Linked DNA regions of Homo sapiens: region 2 is linked to region 1. Evidence: promoter capture Hi-C in 16 types of primary human blood cells and fetal thymus (Javierre and others, 2016). All regions are on one chromosome and are shown on one strand. The core of a region is centred on a gene start or on the middle of the fragment in contact, and the rest is flanking DNA. Distances in the headings are between cores, read along the strand shown.

Region 1 (7,243 bases), core at 1,867-4,366:
CATCCCCCTACAGGTACAGAGCTGGGCCTATGGAAGCCCTGGCTCCTGGCTGCCTGATTGTGATGGTGTCTTTGGCTTCCTTGAGGAGGAAGGGAGGCCTGCGCCATCTGCAACTCCCTAAAAGCAGCTCCAGATTCAGTAACCTCTCCAGGAACACACTTGCCTTCATCACAGGAAGAGTAAGCACCACAGGGCTGAAGAACAGCAAAGTTAGTCCCGTTAGAACTCTTTTAGACCTCCCTGCAAGGACAAGTTAGACCAGGCTAGCTCCTGCCTCCCCTCTCAGGGGTGCTGGCTAATGACTTCTTTCTCCCTGGGCCTTCCTTGCCAATAACTTCAGTACAGAAACTTTTTCCCAAAGGGGAGGGGAATTGGCAAGGAAAGGAGGGAATTAAGTTGACAACAACCTTTTGGCAGTTTTCCTACTATAACTTCTCACTGTTACTTAAAAGGGAAGAAAATAGGCCTCTAATGTCTGCAACTGTTTTTTGAAAAACCTAAACTGTTCTAGGGTGGTTTGTGGCTATAATTTCATGTCTCAAAATTAATGCCAAAGTCCTCCTCCCACCCCAGATCCTGCTACCCTCTCATAAAAACAGCAGAGAGGTGAGTGCTCTCTGTGTGCTTCCCCTTTTATCTTTCTTTATGACTGAAATGAGCATGAAACCAAACTGAAAAGTCCAGCATCATCAGGTCTTCTATCATGTGTCTAGCAAGGTACAGCCCGGATGGCACGTTCATCTTCATATTTTCGCTATCTCTTAGAACTGCCCCTACACAAATTAACAAAGGCATCTCTGAGAAATGCTAGATTTAAATTGCTAGAAGACCTAACAATGCCCTTCCTTAAGAAGTACACATTTTCCCAGTAGATATTTTGCTTCTTGCCTGATCTGCACAGAGCACTGGATGTGACACTTACACATATATACATGGGTAATTATTTAACCTGATGAAAATGTGATATACAAATGTATATCATGAAATAAAATTTTAAGTGTGTAATAAGGAGAAACATTAATATTTTAAAAACTAGTGTGTTTGAAAATCCCAAGTGCAAAAGTGTTGAAAGGTGGGACCTGTGAGTGGTAATTAGGTCATGAAGGCTCTGCCTTCAAGAATGAATTAATTTTGTTATTGAGGGAGTAGGTTTGTTATAAAAGTGAAAGTGGGCCCCCTCTTGTTTTCTCATGTTCTCTTACCCTTCCACCTTCCACCAAGGGATGACAGCAAGAAGGACCTCCCCACATGCCAGTCCCTTGATCTCAAGACTTCCCTGACTCCTGAACTACAAGAAATAAAATGTGTTCTTTAAAAATTACCCAATCTGTGGTATTCTGTTACAGCAGCACAAAACAGACTAACACTGTTACCAACAAATACGTAATTCCATTAAAACATATATTCAAACAACTTCTTAAAGGTATAGAACTTTGAGACCAGAAGGTATCCTGGAGACATACTTGTCTAAAGCGAAGAAGACAATATTGCGACAAGCAGCCATCCAAAAAGATGAAAAGCGAGAAAGCCATGGTCTTTCCGATGACAGACTCAAAAGGGCTGAGCAGCACCTATTCAAATGGTGAGACAATTCTAGAGTGCTGAATCCTATCCGCCTCCCAGGGACACGATCCCGAGGGATACTACAAAACAAATGTAAATATGAACATGAGTTCAAGTTAGTAATCAAAATACTTAAGTTAGTATCTGAAAGGTACAAGTTTCCTAACAAAATGAGTACATTATCTCAAGCGTTTTAAAAAGCGTTTTAATGCAGCTAAACACCTGAGGAAAATGCATTTCCAGACTTGCACTCCCAGAGTATGGAGATTAACAAGGGAAGATATATATGTGTACATATGTATATATCTTCAGGACTGTAAGAATTTCCCAGTACTGTGAAATTAAAATTTAAAACAAAAACAAAAACACTCTACCTTGAAATTTCCAGATTTAAAGGACTGTAACCCTTAGCTCGAAATTTACTTTGTGTTTCGGAACTCTCTGGAGTGTTAAGGCTCGTGTGTTTTCTTTGCGGGTGTTTTTTTAACGACTCAGTGGGCTGGCTCCAAGTTTGTGAAGATCCTGTTAATTACCTCCTGCATTTACCACCGACCAAGGATGGGAGGCACGCGGCACTTGCTGAGCATATGTAGCTTTACAGGGAAGGGAGACGAGCAAAGATCACTGAAAACTGCAACCGAAACCCTCAGAAATTCCAGCTCTCCCCTCTTCCCTCCGGTCCCTTCGACAATCCATTTGGTGACCTGACACGTCATCCATACACTCCCAAGAGTGCCTTCGGGAACCCCTCTCCCCACTACCCAACCAGAGAGACAGCCCCACGCCCGGCAAGACGCAACTCCGGGCCACGGAGGGCGCCGCCCGGACAGCCCGGCCGGGTCAGGGGGCTTCGCCGCCGAGCACCCTCCGGCAGCCGCCCTCGGGCCTCCGCGGCCGGGCGGGAGGGCGCCTCCCCGACCACACTTCGGCCGCTTGGCACCCACAGCCGGGAGGGCGTGAGGAAGGACTCGGTCTAACTCCGGGGAACCCTCGGAGTTCCGGCGCAGACACCCGAGGGGGTGTCCTGGGAACTCCTTCGCCCGCGACACCCGTTCTTCTCCGTCTCCCGACCACCAGCGACGCAGCAGGGCGGCTGCCGGCCCGGCCCGGCCCGCCTTGCGGGCTGTGCGCGGCGCAGCTCTTCCTCCGCGGGGCCGTGAAGGCCACCGGCCGCCCCCGCGCGCCCAGCTGCCCGGCCCCGCCGCCTAAGCCGCCGCGTTGCTGGCGGGTAGCCGCGGGCCTCCGGTGCGCGGGCCCCGGCGCGTCCCCGAGCGCGCGCCTGGCCGCGGCCCCGCGCGAGTTGCACTAACTTTCCGGGGCGGGGGAGGGGTGGGCGCCGCGGGCCCGGCTCCCAGGCCTTACCTGTGCTCAAGTTGTCGTTGATTTTCAAAGGCACCCGCAGGATGTAGACCAGGAATAGCACGATGAAGAACCACACGGTCCACAGATACGTCCAAGACCAAACTATGCAGGACTTGAGCTGCTCCAGAAAGCCCGTGGCCGCTTCAGCCATGTTTCAGCGCTCCTCTCTGCTGCCGCGGCTCTTGGTGTCTGCCGGGATGATTCACCGGCCCGGAGGCGCAGCTCGCGCCGCCGCCGCCGCCGCGGCCCGGGCGCCCCCGGAGCCCGCCCGCCGCCGGGGACGCGGGCTCGGCGGGAAATCGCGCGGGCCGCGGGCGCGCCGGCTTTTCCTTCTCCAGCCTTATTGCTAACTCTCTAAAGGTCCCTACAAGTGGCTTTCGTGGAGCGATCACGTGGCCCCTGCCCCCTCGCGTTCTGGGTCCATTTATATTTATTATGCTAATATTTAGAAAGAGAAGGCCAAGTGGCGCGCCGAAGGAAACGCCTCAGGCAGTTACAACCCGCATAAGTTGAGCGTTTACCACACGCCAGGCGCTGCTCCACGATCCGTACAATCTCATTTAACCCCTGCAACAATTCCCCACTACGATCCTCTTTCTATAGGTAGGGAAACTGAGGCTCACAGCAGCTGCGTAGTTTACCTTAAGGTGGAACCAAAATTCAATTGCAGTGGTGTATTCTGGGGTCCGAGGTCTTAAACCCTACTCTGCTCCCTTATCAGGATTCAGGCTCAGGGAATGAATAAACCCGGGACAGCTAGGAGAAGGGAGGAGGTGCGCTCCTGTCGCCGGCTAGTAGGCCTGAAGATAAATCACTCTATTCAGCAAGATTTGGGTGGCAGATGCTATTTACCTTTGTTCTGTCTCTTTGAAGCAGCGCAGGGATTTTCCAGAGAAATCTTGACAGATGAATGTTTATCCTCCAGGTTTTTTGGTGATCAGAGGTCAAACTATTCTCAGCCTGTTTTTAATATAAACAATTCTCTGGGATAATTTTGACTGTGAAACGGCCACCTCTAACAGAAAGTCCATTTTAAACATTGTTTTGTTGTTTTTGTTTTGTTTTGACTGTGCTGAATAAAATGTTTCTTTTATTCTAAAATGTTTTCTCAGCTGAAATTTTCAAGTCTGTTTCTGTCCGTAAGTGATTTGACTTTCTATGTATTAGATGGTAATGAGGAAATTGCAGGTTTTCCAGTCTACATCTATTTTTAAAATTCTGAGCATAAAGAATATTTTATTATAAATTGTTTTGCTTACTTGTATAATAGTTTCCTTCATAATTAAATAAGCTCCTTTAACTTTTCACATATAGGGCCTATTACGGCATACATAATGGATGGAACTACTCTTAAATTTTTACTAATTCCAGCCTCTCTCGGCTACTGTTTCTTCCTCACATTTGATCTACTACAGTGAGATCCAGGCCAGAATAAGTGAAATTGGCACACATAGACTTTCTTTATAGTTATTTATGGCAGCACATGACCAAATGATTTTTGTGTCTAACACTGATACATGGAATCTCAGTAAAATAAAACAATATTGTCACCAGTAAAGGATCGTGACTGCAGGTTGTCCAGGTTCTTGGCGTTTTGAACAAAGAATTGGACAAAACACCCAGAGAAGCGACAAAAGAACGAAAGCAGGGATTTATTGAAAACGAAAGTACACTCTACATTGTGGGAGCGGGCGGAGCAGCGGCTCAAAGGCCGAATACAGAATCTTCTTGGGTCCAAATACCCCCAAGAAGTTTCCCTTTGGCAACTCATGCTCATCTCACGTAAATGAAGTGGTAGCCCGCAATCAGTCTGACTGGTTGCAGAAAGCAGCCAACCAGAGGCTGAAATGAAGATACAAAGGTAACACTCCTGTGCAAACATCTGATTGGTTGCAAAAAACAACCAATCAGAGGCTGGGATGTACTTAATGAAGTTATGCTTCTATGCAAACGAAGACTCGCCCACAGTCTGATTAGTTGTGGACAACAACCATTCAGAGGCTGGAGTGAAGTTACAAAGTTGCAAATGAAGATTGGACCCGCAGTCAGTCTGATTGGTTACAGACAGCCAATTTCCCATCTACTAGGCAGAAAAGGTCAAAGGTAGCCTCTGGTCCTTTTGTTACTTAGGCGTGGAAAGTTAGGGTTTTCCTTTCAATGTAGTTCAAGGAAGTCCTTAGTTTCCCTGCCTCCAGAACCTAGTCTCCTGCCTCAACATGAGTACATGAACCACCTATTTTATGTGATGATTAAATAACCCACCAGATTCTCTGCGAGTCACTGAATTAGGATATTGACTACTTAATTTAAATGAACATCCGGAGGCCTGGCTTTTTGCTGTCAATGAACTTCAATGAATGGACATGAATATGACTCCGCTAAGTCACAATCTTCTAATTTTCTACTAGGCGCTCCTGGGAAGTCAGCCCTATATCATTGCCTCTCCTGGTGTGCATCCTGGCATGTGGTGGGGACTGTACACATGCCTTTGTGCTTCAAAACACTTCAAAACAGAAGTGAGTAAGCATAATCTCTTGCAAACTGTGGCTGCTTCAGTATAGCTGGAGTGCAGCCTCTGCAGAGTGGTGTGGATACAGACAAAGCTAAAGATACAGGCCTGAGTCATTTTGAAGGGCCTACTAGAAACGCTAAGGTGTTCATAGTTATGGGGCATTGCACACACCAATCCAAATGACCAACTCAGAGATTTATTTAAGTGGAGATTTAAGAAATATTAAGGAAGTAGATGGCTCACGCCTGTAATCCCAAAACTTTGGGAGGCCGAGGTGGGAGAATCACTTGAGTCTAGGAGTTTGAGAACAGCACAGGCAACACAAGGAGACCTTGTCTGTACAAAAAGATTTTAAAAATTAGCTGGGTGTGGTGGTGTGTGCCTGTACTACCAGCTACTCAGGAGGCTGAGGTTGGAGGATCACTGGAGCCTGAGAGTTTGAGGCTTTAGTGAGCTGTTATTGTGCCAGTCACTCCAGGGTGAGACCTTGTCGAAAGAAAGAGAGAAAGAGAGAGGAAGGAAGGGAGGGAGGGAGGAGGGAGGAGGGAGGAAGGAAGGAAGGAAGGAAGGAAGGAAGGAAGGAAGGAAGGAAAAGGGGAAGGGAAGGGGAGCGAGAGAAAGGAAAGATAGAGAAAGAAAAGAAAGGAAGAAAGAAGAAAGAAGGAAGGAGAGAGAGAAAGAAGAAAAAGAAAGGAAAGAAGGAGGAAGAGAAAAAGGGGAAGGGGAGAGAAAGGAAGGGGAAAGAAAGAAAGAAAGGGAGAGAAAGAAAGAAGAAAGAGAAAAGGAAGGAAGAAAGAAAGAAAGAGGGAGAGGGGGAAGGGAAGGAGGGAGGGAGGCGGGGAGAAGGGGAAGAAGGGAAGAAAGAGGCAGAGAGAGAAAAATAAAGGGAAGGAAGGAGTGAAGGAAGGAGAGAAGGAAGGGAGGAAGGAAGGGAGGGGAGGCAGAAGTGACAGGCCTTGGTGACTGATAAGACAGGCAGGGCAGGCCTGGCGCAGTGACTCACGCCTGTAATCCCAGCACTCCTTGGGAGGCTGAGGCAGGCAGATCACTTGAGGTCAGGAGTTTGAGACCAGCCTGGCCAATATGGTGAAACCCTGTCTCTACTAAAAATACAAAAATCAGCCGGGCATGGTGGCACGCACCTGTAGTCCCAGCTACTCGGGAGGCTGGGGTAGGAGAACTGCTTGAACCTAGGAGGTGGAGGTTGCAGTGAGCCGATATTGCACCATTGCACTCCAGCCTGGGTGTAGCAGTGAGATTCTGCCTCACACACACACACAAAAAAAAACAGGCAGAGCACGGATAAGGGGGGGGCTCTTGAGTGGGACCGTTAATGAAATAATGACACCCCAGATATGCCTAACTACCTCTTGATAATCACCCAGTGGAATGGCACACAATCACCAAGCTCATCACATGCAGAATGGAATGCATTACCTCTTCACCCTCATCTGTTCCTTTTAGAGTTCCATCAAGGAATGGGCACCATCCTTCCAGTTCCCTAATTCAGAAATCTGAGCATCATGTACCTCCTTTCCTCTCTATATTCCACTGTACATCAAGACTCAGGCCGCCACTTCTCTCAGCCTTTGGTGATAGCCTGATCATCATTCATAGAGAACAAGGCAGTGGGCTCCCTGCCTCTATTTGCACCACGGCAAGCACCACCACTGCCTCCTTCCATCCACTTTCCACACTTCTCTACCAGTTACCTTTTAAAGCACAAATCCGATAACTCGTTCCTTGCATAAAATTATTTAAGGCCCCACCCCTACTGCACTCCTACTTTTATCCCAGTGTCTAACT
Region 2 (7,243 bases), core at 1,272-3,771, 430 kb before region 1:
CTAGTCTTAAGCCTGAGTAATGTGGTTAATGGTGGCTTTATGAAATAGGGAAGACTGAGAGGAGCAGATTTGGGTTATTATGCAGGTAAGTGCAGTGGAGATGAGACATCAACAGTTCGGATTTAGATGTAATGAAGAATTTGAATTCGAATGGTTAATTCAAATAATTTGTTGTTGCCACGTATGTGTGTATGTGGGGGTTTTGGGTGGCGTTGTTGTTGTTGTTGTTGTTGTTGTTGTTGTTGTTGTTGAGACAGGGTCTCACTCTGGTTGCCTAGGCTGGAGTGCAGTGGCACAATCTCGGCTCACTGAAGCCTTGATCTCCCAGGCTCAGGTGATTCTCCCACCTCTGAAGTAGCTGGGATTACAGTTGTGCAGACCACATCCAGCTAATTTTTTTTTTTTTTTTTTTTTAAGTAGAGGTAGAGGCAGGGCTTTCCTCTGTTGCCCAGGCTGGTCTCGAACTCCTGGATTCAAGCAATCCACCTGCCTTAGCCCCCCAAGTGGTAAGATTACAGGCCTGAGCCACCACACCTGGCTAGTTGTATATATTTTTTTATGTTTGCTTAAGTTATCCAGGAAATTCAATCTTTACCTCATAAAGATTGTCTATCTAATGAAGCCACTATGTAAGGGATATTCAAGGTAGAGGAGGCAATCTTTTACAACTGATTTAGCATATAATTTCACATAAAACATTCAAATTATAATATACCATGAAATATAAGAAACAGATATATATGAATTGTGCTAACAAGGACATAGGTGTGAAGTGTTCAGATTTCAGGGTATAACCTTATGCTAACAAACCTTACAGAGAAATAGTCTATTGGTAGGTTGTATATGTAATGTGAATAACCAATAAAAACTTTCTTGGTAAGATCAAAACATGGAACTCTGAAATTATTTATTTTTCTTTTCCAAAGTTCTTTGTGTATAAATCAGATCTTGAGGACGACTCAGGAAAATTGGGCTCAGAGTCTCAGACCTCCTTTAAAACAGACCATGATGTTATGTTCAGCCCAAGTAGAGCTGATAAAATCTGGTGTCCTTGGAATAGGCCCAGAAGGTGACTAACTTCCAGGAGTAGAAGGATTGAATCTCTAATTTTGGGAAATGATAAACTACAGAGAAACCACTATCCTCTCCCAGAAAGTACTCTTAAGAGAATATTAAGCTGGTTAATCTATTGGACTTATCTCTTTTCTAATTATATATAGTAAGTCTCCCAGTCAGAATAAAATTCTTTCAGTCTCAGACTAAAGTAGAATCATAATAGAATACATTAAGGAATGAAGTTTTTAAATTTACATTTTTGTTTCAGCAATCCTCTAAATAAAATGTAATAAGCATTTAGTATTAGCAAATCCTTTGAGGGCAGGGACCTTATTTGTGTCATTCATTACTATATTCCTAGCATAAGCATAGTGTGGGTACACTGATAATTTTCTAGATGAATATGTATATTAGTGAACTTCATAGTAGAAAGCGTGGCTTATTTCATGTATTTTTAATACATTTATTCACTAGAGGGTGCTGTGTAAGCATTCAGCACTTTAAAAGTGTCATCTCTTTCACTTGTACTTACTTGCAGGAAGGTTGGATTTTTAAATCACCTGATTTAGCAAAAGCTTTCATTTCTTTTCGTTTTCAAAGCAGTACTGGTGGTATTGTGTATGGTTAAATTAATGAAAATGAGAGATTAATGGCAGCATTAACACAAATGTTTCCTTTCTTCCTCCTCCTTAGGAGACTTATGACCCCAATCATGTATGCTGCTCGAGATGGTCACACCCAGGTTGTTGCTCTCCTTGTTGCTCATGGAGCAGAAGTTAATACCCAGGATGAGAATGGTTACACTGTGAGAAACATTTTTACAATGTTTCTTTTTGTTTCTGTTATTATCAGTAATCTACAAAAAAAGAATTTTAAGAAGTAATAATTACAAAAGGGCTGGAATATAATTGCTATCTGGTGAAAAAAAGCAACAGTTGAAATAGAAGGGTATGGTGACTCACACCTGTAATCCCTGCACTTTGGGAGGCCGAGGCAGGCGGATCATTTGAGGTTAGGAATTTGAGACCAGCCTGGCCAACATGGTGAAACCCTGTCTCTACTAAAAATACAAAAAATTAGCCAGGCATGGTGGCACGTGCCTTTAATCCCAGCTACTCAGGAGGCTGAGGCAGGAGAATCGCTTGAACCCAAGAGGCAGAGGTTGTAGTGAGCCAAGATCGCACCACTGCACTTCAGCCTGGGCAACAAGAGCGAAACTCCATCTCAAAAAAAAAGAAAAGAAAAGAAATAGAAATGAGGAATTAACTGACTCTCGTAGTCCTTACTCTTGATTAAAAAAAAAAATTGTAACACACAGCAAAATCTGGGCTCTAAAATATACATAAGAATTATTTTTTGTAGAAAACCCTTCAGTGATTGGCAAATAAATCATTTTATTCCTTAACATCAGTTAATTGTATAAAACACTGGTTTTAAAAAATCAATGAGCTTTGCAGTCAGCTTTGCAATTACAACTTTGGAAATATGTTTACATTATATTGTAAAATGAAGAGATTGCATCATTCCATTAATTAACTATGTTCTCTTTTTTATTGTGTCATAAATACTGTTGAAAACTTTTCCTGTCTGTCTCATATACACTCCTTCTCTTTAAACAATCTTCTTTTCCCCCTACTTACAGGCTTTAACGTGGGCAGCACGTCAGGGTCATAAAAATATAGTTTTGAAGTTGCTTGAACTTGGAGCTAATAAAATGCTACAAACCAAAGATGGAAAGATGCCAAGTGAGATTGCAAAAAGAAACAAACATCATGAGGTATCCTTCTGTACATATTAAACTTATTTTCTGTGGCATATCACATTATCATTTGTAGAACTTTTGTATTATTCTGTTAGAATTAAAAGTGTAATTATAGTGTATCTGGCAATTATTAAATGTTTAAATATGTATCTTTCCTCCAGCCAGGTAATGAGAACTTTATTTTGCTAGAGTATTCATCTTCTATGAAACAAGAAGCACTTATAGTAATTTAAAAGCTCTATAAAAGAGTAATAAAATCTTATTCTGGCCCCAGGAATAAAATTGTAATATACTATTTAAACATTTTAAACTGGTCCAGAATTTTAAAAGTAATTTAGTGAAAGCTAGTAAAATGCCAGTTTGAACATGTAACTCAAACATTCTTTTGTAAGTTTAATTAATGTATTAAACAATTTAAAAATTAAATTCCTTAAACAACATTTGCTCTTATATGTGTGACAGGGCTTACGATAAAGTGATAATATACCTGGATGTATAATCTGTCATTCAGATGTTAAACTCAATAATAAATACTTGCCATACATTAAATTACTTTATCAATATAAACTTTTGGTCTGAAGATTAAAGCTTTAGCCACAAGTCTGTAACTTCTAAGCAAGGATCAAGTATAGTACAATTATAAAACTAAGTTGTTTAGTTCAAGAGTTTGTAACACTGAGTTCCCGAATTTGAAAGCACGTAAAATTCCAAAGATTCCGTCATGTAATCATCAAACCAAGCCACTTTTACTGCATATAAAGTAACTTCCTCTAACCTTTTAAGCAATCTGATAAACATGGCTATCATTTTCCAAATATTATTCTAATATTTTCAGAATTTTTATAGGATAAACAGTAATCACTACAGCCCTGTAGAATTTCAAAAAGGAATTTACCATTTTTCTTCCAAACTTTGAAAATTCAAAAACTTAAAATTATTTTATTACATTGTTAAATGTAGAGTAGATGACACCAAACTTGACATAAGAAGTTTATGAACATCAAAGGTTATTTTGAGTCATAAATCATTTATTGAAATGAGATTTGATCTTGTATTTTGGCTGAGTATGTGATATAACCTTGACTTCCTGAGAGGTTAGATTTTAAAACTCAGGAATTTCACCATATCTTTTTGAGGTGTTCAGTTAGGATTTGTATACATTTAGTCATGCTCATTACTCTCTTGCCACTTAGCAATGTTTTTAAAGTACTATCTTAATATTTAATCTGAGTCATTTATCCAAATGGAATTTTTAGTTTCGCTATGTATCTTACCAAAAATATTAATTACTATCTTCCTTTAATTTTTACTATTTTGAATTAGATGTACTTTTTTCTTTTCTGATTATTGTAGGTTAAGGAAGCACTTAGATATCCCAATTACCCTGATTTGTTTATTATACATTGTATATGTGTATCAAAATATCGCATGTACCCCCCAAAATATATACAACTGTGATATATCATTTTTTTAAAAGTTGTTATCAGGGTAGTAAATTGTGAAACATCTGTCCCACTTACTTGCTAAAATTTCCTTTCTGGATATGAGATAATCGTATGTTCAGTTTCTTTTAAGTGTAAGTTACAGTATGCAATGTTAATTATATTTGAATGATGTTAACTTTTTTCAGATCTTCAACTTACTTTCTTTTACTTTAAATCCATTGGAAGGAAAACTTCAACAGCTAACTAAAGAAGACACTATTTGTAAAATATTGACAACAGATTCTGATAGAGAAAAAGATCACATTTTTAGGTAATATAGCATGTTTTAGTTCAACAGAATACCTATAAGTAAAATTTGTGTATATTTTATTGTAGTAAATGTGGTGACTTATTTAAAATATATGATATTTTAAATGTTTACAAGCATTTTTAAATGTCTGGGTTTTTAGTGTTCTCCAGAATTTTAGAAAATTTTTATTCATTTTTATGTACTAACACTAATGATAATAACTTTAAATGTAAACTTTAAGTAAGATATCAACAATAAAATCTATTTTTAAAAGGTTCTGAAATTATATTAGTGTTCAAACAGTATAACACCTTGTTTTCTAATTATTTTTAGTACAGTTCTAATTTTATAAGCTAAAATTAAACATATACTTTTCCCCCCAGAACACCACTGTTGAGTACATGGCCAAAAATAATTCTCTCCTTACCCCATTTAAAGTTACTTAAATTTTACTTATTGCAATTAAAGAGGTGTGGTTTTTTTTCATTTTTTGTTTTTTGTGGGTTTTTTTGCCTCAAACACCTGTGCTCAAGCAGTTCTCCCGCCACAGCCTCCCAAGTAGCTGGGACTGCAGGTGTATGCTACTGTACCAGGCTGAGGAGATTTTTATGTGCAGAAATTTCACAAGGAGTACATACTGGCATATATTTTCATTTGGGGAAAGATGAGTTATACTCCTCATATATCTTCAGTCACAAAACCTTACTTATTCCTTTGATATAGCATAGGTCTGGTGTGCAGATTGCAAATATATTCTACATGAATTCATTATTATTCATATTCTCTTGCAATATAAATGTATATTTATCGCTTGTGCATTTATAATCTGTTCTGAAATTGACATTGCTATAAATGTATACAGTTCATATACAGCATTTGGAGATCTGGAAGTATTTTTACATGGTCTTGGACTTGAACATATGACAGATTTACTAAAGGTAAGATCTTATATAACCTACAGTGAGTTATGCATATATGTTAATTTGTTGGTTAATATAATGTTAGATATTAATTCATAAACATGTCTATGAATAACTGCCAATTTACTTTTCACCATAATTTGTAGTACATCCCAATTTTAAATTTGTGAAAAACATTGCAAAAATGTATTATTCTAGAAATTTACATAAATTAGAATCTGAGATTAAACAGTTTTTACCCACTGCCTAACCTTCATATACACCTGAGCCCTTAGTTTGTTTCTGTAGTTGCTCATCTTCTTGAGTAGAATATTGGAAGAGCGTGATTTTAAACCAAACACCTGGTATCAGATTCTTGCTCTAATGTTTAATCACTGAAATATGTGACTTAAATATCTCATTTTCTTCATAAGGATAATAATACCTAGTGTTGGGTTGTCATGAAGGTTAAATCAGATCATATGCCAAGCACTGTGTGGGTGTTTTAAGCATACATTATGGGGTTTGAGTCCATGACAGTTGTTACCAGCTAGGTGGAGATACTGAAGCAGTAAAGCACTATTTAAGATAGACTCTTCTTGGGAGTGTGCACATTCTGTTAAAATATTTCAGAGTTGTGCTTCATTGTATAATCTTGAAATGTCTCCCTATTTGGAGAAATCTTGAGTAAAACTACATGTTGGTTTAATGTGATACAGTCAGAAATTTAAAATATTCATAAAACATAATTTCTGCCAAATTTTATAGAACTGCTTTTCTTTTAATGTAAGCAAATATGAATGGTAATCATTTGAATCTGGAAAACTAGCTATATTTATACTTTTTAGGTGAATATAATTATTATGATACTCATTACTGTCTACTCAGTAGCATAGTTCTGCATGTATATATCCTGTCCCCTCTAGAAAATTGGAATTTGCTTCAGAGTGAAGCAAGTAACTAACTTATGAACATTTGCCTACTTCTCCTTCTACTATTTTAATTATATGGAAAGGTGGCCTTTTTTTCCTTTTATACAGGAAAGGGATATAACGTTAAGACATCTTTTGACCATGAGGGAAGATGAATTTACAAAGGTTAGTATCAATTTCAAAAATTCCCGATACATTGTTTGATGTTTTTAAAATTGTGGATCCTTTTCTTCTCTCTTTTTAAAATGCCAGGGCTATAGACAAAAGATTGATCTTCTACTGTGTCCTTGATTAGATATGATTATGGATAACCGTATCTAAAATCTTGTGTTAGTATTAAGTTACTTTAAGAACATGTAATGACTTATAGTTTGGGTTTTGTTTTTGTTTTTTTCAGATTGTCATGACAGCTAGAACTGATCCTTCAGTTTCAAATGTGCAATAGATTTGTAAAATGGGGCACTTACAAATAAGAGATAGTTTTTTTATGTATATGGGTATTAACACGTCTCCCAAGCCTTTTGTTTGGTTCTCAAAACTGAGACCTTTTATTTTGCCATCTAGTATTATCTAATAACATATAGCTGCGGGATGTATTAGAGACACTTTGATAAATAGCATATGTAAAAAGCAATGATCTGACTGCATGACCACATTGGAAACTTGACATTTTTAATATCACTAAAAATCAGTAAGCATACTACAAAACTAAATCCAGTATAGAAAATTTAGTTTAACACTAAAGGTAGAATACAAACAAAGATAGGGCCTAATTCTCATTTATCACTGATAATATTTTAAATAAAAATTTGAAGGAAATTTTGTTTTACTGTGTTTTTTTGAAATATTACATATTAAGT

What was found. Contacts are between HindIII fragments. The CHiCAGO score rates a contact against its expected background, and 5 or more counts as called.
Region 2: a fragment that was not itself captured here is called in contact with the fragment with the promoter of ST7 in region 1 in 1 of 17 cell types (endothelial precursors); the score reaches 5.7 in endothelial precursors.

The regions. Positions count from the first base shown.
Region 1 is chr7:116,949,374-116,956,616 of GRCh38, reverse strand. It overlaps ST7 (suppression of tumorigenicity 7), which reads right to left and starts at 3,116. Exons shown (of 16, transcript NM_001369598.1): 1 at 2,926-3,116. The coding sequence starts at 3,076. ST7-AS1 (ST7 antisense RNA 1) reads left to right here and starts at 2,283. Exons shown (of 1, transcript NR_002330.1): 1 at 2,283-4,171. ST7-OT4 (ST7 overlapping transcript 4) reads right to left here and starts at 2,769. Exons shown (of 5, transcript NR_002329.2): 1 at 2,508-2,769; 2 at 1,938-2,156; 3 at 1,464-1,643; 4 at 1-194. RefSeq lists silencers at 504-763, 2,361-2,660, 2,721-2,920, 3,131-3,200, enhancers at 2,122-3,045, 3,461-3,570 and a cis regulatory region at 6,234-6,559. The HindIII fragment of the contact is 11,677 bases long and covers 1-7,243 here.
Region 2 is chr7:117,380,316-117,387,558 of GRCh38, reverse strand. ASZ1 (ankyrin repeat, SAM and basic leucine zipper domain containing 1) reads left to right here. Exons shown (of 13, transcript NM_130768.3): 5 at 1,750-1,861; 6 at 2,699-2,833; 7 at 4,449-4,573; 8 at 5,415-5,490; 9 at 6,492-6,548. Among named protein-coding and RNA genes, the nearest start is that of ASZ1, 44 kb to the left of the region's middle. The HindIII fragment of the contact is 1,775 bases long and covers 1,634-3,408 here.